Regions from separate parts of the Homo sapiens genome. Here region 2 is linked to region 1. Evidence: promoter capture Hi-C in 16 types of primary human blood cells and fetal thymus (Javierre and others, 2016). All regions are on one chromosome and are shown on one strand. The core of a region is centred on a gene start or on the middle of the fragment in contact, and the rest is flanking DNA. Distances in the headings are between cores, read along the strand shown. Region 1 holds the start of TFAM (transcription factor A, mitochondrial). Region 2 holds the start of LOC124902546 (a long non-coding RNA gene).

Region 1 (3,475 bases), core at 1-2,500:
TTCCATGCCAGAATGGGAGGTTTGAACAGATGACTTGGAAGGTCCCTTTCAACCCTGGGAGTCTATAAAAGGGAAGTGGTTATTACCGCTTAAAAGAAGAAGTAGGCTTAGTCCTACTTCCAGAGAGCCAATGTTTTCATAGTTACAGAAAGGTAAATAGACTGTCAGCTCAATATGACACTGGTAAGAATTTTCTAACAATTACGGCTATCCAACAGAAGAAAGGCTGTCTCAGAAGGTGGTTAGCTCTGAAACAACTGGTATTTAAGGGCTGGAAGGACCCTTAGGTATCTTTAGGTCTTCCTAATCTTTTTCATGCCATTGCCTATACAGAAAATGGTATTTCTATAACACAAATAAAAAAATTATACAGCAATTTTTGACACATCAATGTCTCAAGGCATACTTGTCACACGTTCTCAGGGCTTTGGCTGGGAAAACTGATTTAGTCTAACATCCTCGTTTGCAGAGGGGGAAACTGAATCTTAACGAGGGAATGCAATATTCCCAAGTCAAGACGTTAATGTTAATACTGGAACTAGAAGAATTGAGACTAGCGACTGTGGACAACTAGCCAGTTTCCTCTGCTCAAATTAAGCAAGCTGGAGGCCAGACTGAAAGACTGCAGTAGATGGTAGAATAAACAGTCTAAAGCTATATTGCTTTAAATGTGGTCTCAAGACCACCGACATTAGAACTTGTTAAATTCTGGGGAACTCGCTAAAATGAAGATTAATGGGCCCCACATAGACACACGGAATTAAGCTCTGCGGTAAGGCCTTGGAATCTGCATTTTTAGGTTTGCGAATCCCCGCCTCTCCCGTTACTATTTCTGAACTCCGAGCTCCAGCCCTGGCTTGAACTGAGACGCTCCGCTGGGCGCGCAGCAGCCGCCGATCGGACCTCGGGGTCCTGGATGCAGGACTGTCTGTTACGTACAGCCCTTGTGACCGTCACGGGCGGACACCGGCCAACGCCGGGTTGGGGTGAGGCCGCCGCCGCGGTCCCTCCATCACCCTCCTGGCCCGGCAGAGGAACCCACTGCTCCGGGCGGCCGGGGACAGAGGTGGCTCAACAGCGCCGCCTCGAAGCCAGAGCCCTCCGCAGGCTAGAGGATTGCGGTTTCCCTTCATCTCCGCGGCTCTTATTCCTCCCCCGCAAGGCCGCCCACCGGGGTACGCTCTCCCGCGCCTGCGCCAATTCCGCCCCGCCCCGCCCCCATCTACCGACCGGATGTTAGCAGATTTCCCATAGTGCCTCGCTAGTGGCGGGCATGATAACACACGCCGGAGGGTCGCACGCGGGTTCCAGTTGTGATTGCTGGAGTTGTGTATTGCCAGGAGGCTCTCCGAGATTGGGGTCGGGTCACTGCCTCATCCACCGGAGCGATGGCGTTTCTCCGAAGCATGTGGGGCGTGCTGAGTGCCCTGGGAAGGTCTGGAGCAGAGCTGTGCACCGGCTGTGGAAGTCGACTGCGCTCCCCCTTCAGGTAGGCCCGCTTGCCTGTGCCCTAGGGGCAGCAGGGCCCAGGACGTCCCGGGGTTGGAATGTAGACCCTATCCTTCACTTTCTGCCCCTCCTAGGAGTTCAGAGTCACCCTGGTTCTTTGATTCAGACCGCGACCTTGCCAAGGGGACGGTGGCCTTGAGACCAGGCCTTTATTTACTCTCTTAATACGCCGTACCTTCTTGCTACCCTCCACTCGCTTCTCCCATCCCTCCTCACTGTCCAGCTTTGGATCCTTTCCGCCTCCTCTGCGAATTCGCGCCGAGTCTCCGGCCATCATCTAGGCATTGAGGAGGCGGGGCCCAGGAGCTGGAGTATAGACGCTTTCCTTCACTCCCTGCCCTTCCTAGGAGGTAAGGGCTTTGAGACTTCAGTCCTGCAGACGCTCCCCTCCGTTTAGGACAGGGTTTTAATAAGTCTCTAGCATTCTTGTTGAAGGCGTTGGATACATAGTATCTTGATGACATTTCTTATTTGGGATCTGTGTTCATATACATGTGAATATTGACAGTTAAACATCTGACACTGGTTATTTTCTTTTTGTTTATATGTAGTTTTGTGTATTTACCGAGGTGGTTTTCATCTGTCTTGGCAAGTTGTCCAAAGAAACCTGTAAGTTCTTACCTTCGATTTTCTAAAGAACAACTACCCATATTTAAAGCTCAGAACCCAGGTAAGGAGTTTTGGGGCATATACCCTTTTCTCATGTAATAAAAATGCCATTAAGCAGTTAAATACCAATGTTGAATTGCAGTGCTAAAGCATTCAGTGACTGCAGGAACAATCATTTGATGTCTGTAAAATAGGAAGTTCTATTTTATACCAAATGGAAATGCTTTAAATATAAATGAGAACTAGTAAATGGTATTTTAAAAATAACGTATAGTGTAGAAAGCACCCTAGGAAGAGGATAAAAAAGCTGAATTTGGGGCCTTGTTGCCTTTGGTCTAGAGGACCACTGATGAATTATTTTCTCTTGCCTAGCTCCTCCTTTTTCTGGCTCAGGGAATTGTTAATAAAGTTGCAACTTCTGTGGAAGCATCCATAAACTGTAAGTTCTGTAGAACTGTAAAGTTCTATGCAATTTACTGCTAATTTCAAGAGCTTTCAAGATAAGAAAGGATAAACCTTTTCATCATAGGAGTTCAGAGCCACTCTGGTTCTTTGATTCAGACCTCGACCTTGCCAAGGGGATGGTGGGTTGTAAAGGATAAATCCTTTCTTGTCTTGGGTTCCTAAAAAAAAAACATTTCCAGGTAGGATGTTTGTTGACTCTCTAGAAAGCCTCTCGGCGAGAATAAAAAATGCTCACATCAGGCTGGGTGAGGTGGTTCACACCTGTAATCCCAGCACTTCGGGAGGTCGAGATGGGTGGATTGCTTGAGCCCAGGAGTTCGAGAACAGCCTGGGAAACATGGAAATCCTGTCTCTACCAAAAATACAAAAATGAGGTGGGCATGGGGGCGCAGTGCCTGTAGTCCCAGCTACTTGGGAGGCTGTGGTGAGAGGATCACTGGATCCCAGGAAGTTGAGGCTGCAGTGAGCCATGACTGCTCCACTGCACTCCAGCCTGGGTGACAGAGCGAGACCCTGTCTCAAAAAACAATAATAATTTTAAAAAAAAGCTCACATTATAGGTAAGGAGTTAGTTTCAGAGACATGCTTAAGTACCCACATCTTTTAAATGTAAGAGTTAGTACTAACAGGTATTTTTAAAAATCAATTAATTGCACGCCATCATTCCGGTTAAGATGAAGAAGGAAGTGGAGAATAACAGATTGAATTTCGAATAGCTTGTTTCCAAATGATATTTCTGTTATTGAAATACGAGGCTGTGTTATATGGATCGAGAATGTATTTTGTTGTTAGCTTTTATAAATTTAGGAATTCCTCAAAGACTTGAAAAAGTGTTTTGCTTGAAATATGGAAGGGAAGTAAAAAACTTGAAGCAATTGATCATCCAGCTTCT
Region 2 (3,475 bases), core at 408-2,907, 2.0 Mb before region 1:
ATTCGCTCGTTGGCGGGCCTCGCTGCTTGGCGCAAGCGCGGTTATGGCTAGGCGCGCACGGGCTCTGCGCCTGCGCGCTAGTCCTTACGCGGTGCCAGAGACTATAAGTGGGCTTGAGCTCGACCGCGCGCCTGTGGAAGTTCTTTCTCTACTCGAAAAAGGGAAAGCATTTCCTTGAGTTTGCGTTTTAAGGGAAACTTACAGCATTGACACTTTATTTAAAATATTCACTACTGCTGTAGAAAAAAAAAAACAAAACCCCGAAAAACAGTGGGGCTGTTTCTAAGACGCTGGGAATCAGTAAAGAATAGTGATCCGGGAGATACAGGAAGCAAATGATCTGCGCTCAAAAAGCGAGCTGCTTTCAAAGATATTAGTATTTTATAGATGCGATGCAGGAGAGTGAACTCAAGCAGAGCCCAGCCGATTGCCTGCGTTGGCAAAATAGAACAGATATTCTGGGGAGACCAAGGTAGGTAATGTTCTTTGCAGAGTACAGGAGAAAGATAACTGCTGAGAGAGAACTTGGTATTCATTCAGCTGAGTACTGAGCAGTATGTGTCTCAAGAAACTAGCTAAAAGATTTTTAAAGATACCAGGACATGGCCGGTCGCGGTGGCTCACGTCTGTAATCCCAGCACTTTGTGAGTCTGAGGCAGGTGAATTACGAGGTCAGGAGTTTGAGACCAGCCTGGCCAACATGGTGAAACCCCCGTCTCTACTAAAAGTACAAAAAAAATTAGTTGGGCGTGGTGGTGGGCGCTTGTAATCCCAGCTATTCGGGAGGCTGAGGCAGGAGAATTGCTTGAACCAGGGAGGCTGAGGTTGCAGTTAGCCGAAATTGCGCCACAGCACTACAGCCCTGGTGACAGTGCGAGACTCCGTCTCACAAAAAAAAAAAAATACATATATATATATATATAAATATATATATATGGACATTACAGAGGGTCAGAAATAGTCTCTATTTCCACTAACCAGGCTGGAAAACTTCATAGTCCGTAGGACACTGGACAGAGTACACACAAAAAAGTCTTGATTTGATAGTTGTTTACTAATTATTTAGTAGGCAGTAATTAGTCCTAGCTGATCAGTGCTGTAGTGCCATCTAACTCTTAAAAGTAAGACCCAAATGGATCAAACTTAACAAACCATGACAGATGACAAGACCAAACTTCAGCAGTATTTATAGAAATAGAAAAATGTTCACCAAAGGTGCAATTTACATATGTCATACAAAGAAAAATTACCAAGCTTGCAAAAAGAAAAAAAAAAACACATAATGAGGAGAAAAATCAATTGCTGATCAGAACTGAAGTAATGTTAGAATCAACAGGCAAGGACATTAAAACAGTTATTGTAACTATATCCCATATCTTCAAAAAGATATCAGAACTATAATGAAAAAGGTAAGTGGTGCTAAGGATGTAAAGAAAGTGGAATTCTCATGTTGATGGAAATGTAAACTGGTGCATAGGCTTTGAACGTAGGGTTACCATATGAGTCACAATTTCATTCCTAGTTATATATCCAAGACAAATAAAAACATGGGGACACAAAAGTACACAAACCTCTATAGCAGCATTATTCACAAAAGCTGAAAGGTAAAAACAACCCAAAGGCCCATTAGCTGGTGAGTGAAAATGCATACTTTCATTCAATGAAGTATTAATCAGTAGTAAAGAGAACTTTATTACATGCTAAATAATGGTTACTACATGCTAAAATATGAACCTTGAAAATATACTAAGTGAAAGAAGCTAATTACAAAAGACCACATAATATATTATTTCATTTATGTGAAATGTCTAGATTTGACAAATCTATAGCAACAGAAAGTAAATTTATATAGTGCTTGTCCAGGGCTGGGGATTGGTGGGAATGAGAGGTTGAGAGAGTATGGGGAGGGACTGCAAATGGATATAGTGTTTCTTTTAAAGGGATAAATAAAATGTTCTACACTTCGGTTATGGTGAAGGTTGTACAATTCTATACAGAAAACCGCTAAATTTACACTTTACTGCTGTCATAAAAGCTGTTAAAAAAGTTAATCAAAGACACAAAGCTTGTAATAAAGACCTAAATCAAACTTGTAGAGGTGAACACTACAATGTGATAGATGGAATTAGATGGTATTAATATAGTATGTTACACATTGCAGAATGAAAGTGAAACACAGCTCTAGAGAAACTACCCAAAATCAATCACAACATTAAAAAATGAAAATAAAGTAACATGAACAAATCAATGGTGAGCTGTGAGACAACTTCTAACAGCCTAATAATATACTTGAAAGTGGAGTCTCAGAGAGGCAAGGGGAGAGGACAAGAAAACAAGTAATAAAGACCAAAAAATTTGAAATGTGATGAAAAATATAAATTCATATATTCAAGAAGCTTCACAAATCTCAAACACAAGAAATATTAAGAAAATGACATCAAGTTATACCATAATTGCATAACTCAAAACCATTGATAAAAAATTCTAAAGTAATAAGGGGTGTTGGGGCACATGTTACATAGAAACAAAGATAAGGATTACGGGAAATTTCTTCTTGGAACAATGCAAGCAAGACAGTAGAGTAACATCTTTCAAGTACTGTAAGAATAAAAAAAAGTCAACCTTGATTTCTGTTTCCAGCAAACAGCTTTCAAAAATGAAGACTAACTAGGCTGGATGCAGTGGCTCACACCTATAATCCCAGCACTTTGGAAGGCCGAGGTGGGCAGATCACGAGGTCAGGAGATCAAGACCATCCTGGCTAACACAGTGAAATCCCCCGTCTCCACTAGAAATACAAAAATTAGCCAGGCGTGGTGGCGGGCACCTGTAGTCCCAGCTACTCGGGAGGCTGAGGCGGGAGAATGGCATGAGCCTGGGAGGTGGAGGTTGCAGTGAGCCAAGATCGTGCCACTGCACTCCAGCCTGGGTGACAGAGCAAGACTGTCTCAAAAAATAAATAAAAATAAAAAAGAAGGCTAACTAAAGACATTCTTAAACACACAAAAATGGAAGGAAATTTTCAGCATAAGATCCCACATGAAACAAGAAGTTCTTCAGGCAGAATGAAAATGGCATTAGCTTCAAATCTGAATGTATACAAAGGAGTGAAATGTGGTCCTGGCTACTTAGGAGTCTGAGGTGGGAAGATCACTTGAGCCCAGTTCAAAGCTGTGATGAGTTGGTCATGCCATTGCACTTCAGCCTGGGTAACAAAGTGAGACCCTATCTTTAAAGGAAAAAAAATTGTGATGTGGGTTTTATAACATATGTAAAAGTAAAATGTAGCACAAAGTGTGGGAGAGAAGAAATAAAAGTAAATTTATATGCTTGTATAGTTTCTCTGAAGTTTTGTTATCAGTTGAAGGTGAACTGATGAGTTAAAACTGTGTTCTAGACTCTCTGAAGCAATAGTGCCAACACACTTTAGAAGGGCTACCAGTGAGTCATTTCCTTGTGTGATTTCTTTCTTTCT

What was found. The method cuts DNA at HindIII sites, captures the fragments that hold promoters and counts their contacts. A CHiCAGO score of 5 or more calls a contact.
Region 2: a contact is called between a fragment that was not itself captured here and the fragment with the promoter of TFAM in region 1, in 1 of 17 cell types (non-activated CD4 T cells). The highest score is 6.6, in non-activated CD4 T cells.

Annotation. Positions count from the first base shown.
Region 1 is chr10:58,384,160-58,387,634 of GRCh38, forward strand. It overlaps TFAM (transcription factor A, mitochondrial), which reads left to right and starts at 1,251. Exons shown (of 7, transcript NM_003201.3): 1 at 1,251-1,489; 2 at 2,061-2,179. The coding sequence starts at 1,389. RefSeq lists enhancers at 702-801, 995-1,651 and a silencer at 932-1,311. The HindIII fragment of the contact is 8,486 bases long and covers 1-3,475 here.
Region 2 is chr10:56,361,385-56,364,859 of GRCh38, forward strand. It overlaps LOC124902546 (a long non-coding RNA gene), which reads left to right and starts at 75. Exons shown (of 2, transcript XR_007062372.1): 1 at 75-472; 2 at 2,641-3,335. RefSeq lists an enhancer at 1-324 and a silencer at 1-142. The HindIII fragment of the contact is 811 bases long and covers 1,253-2,063 here.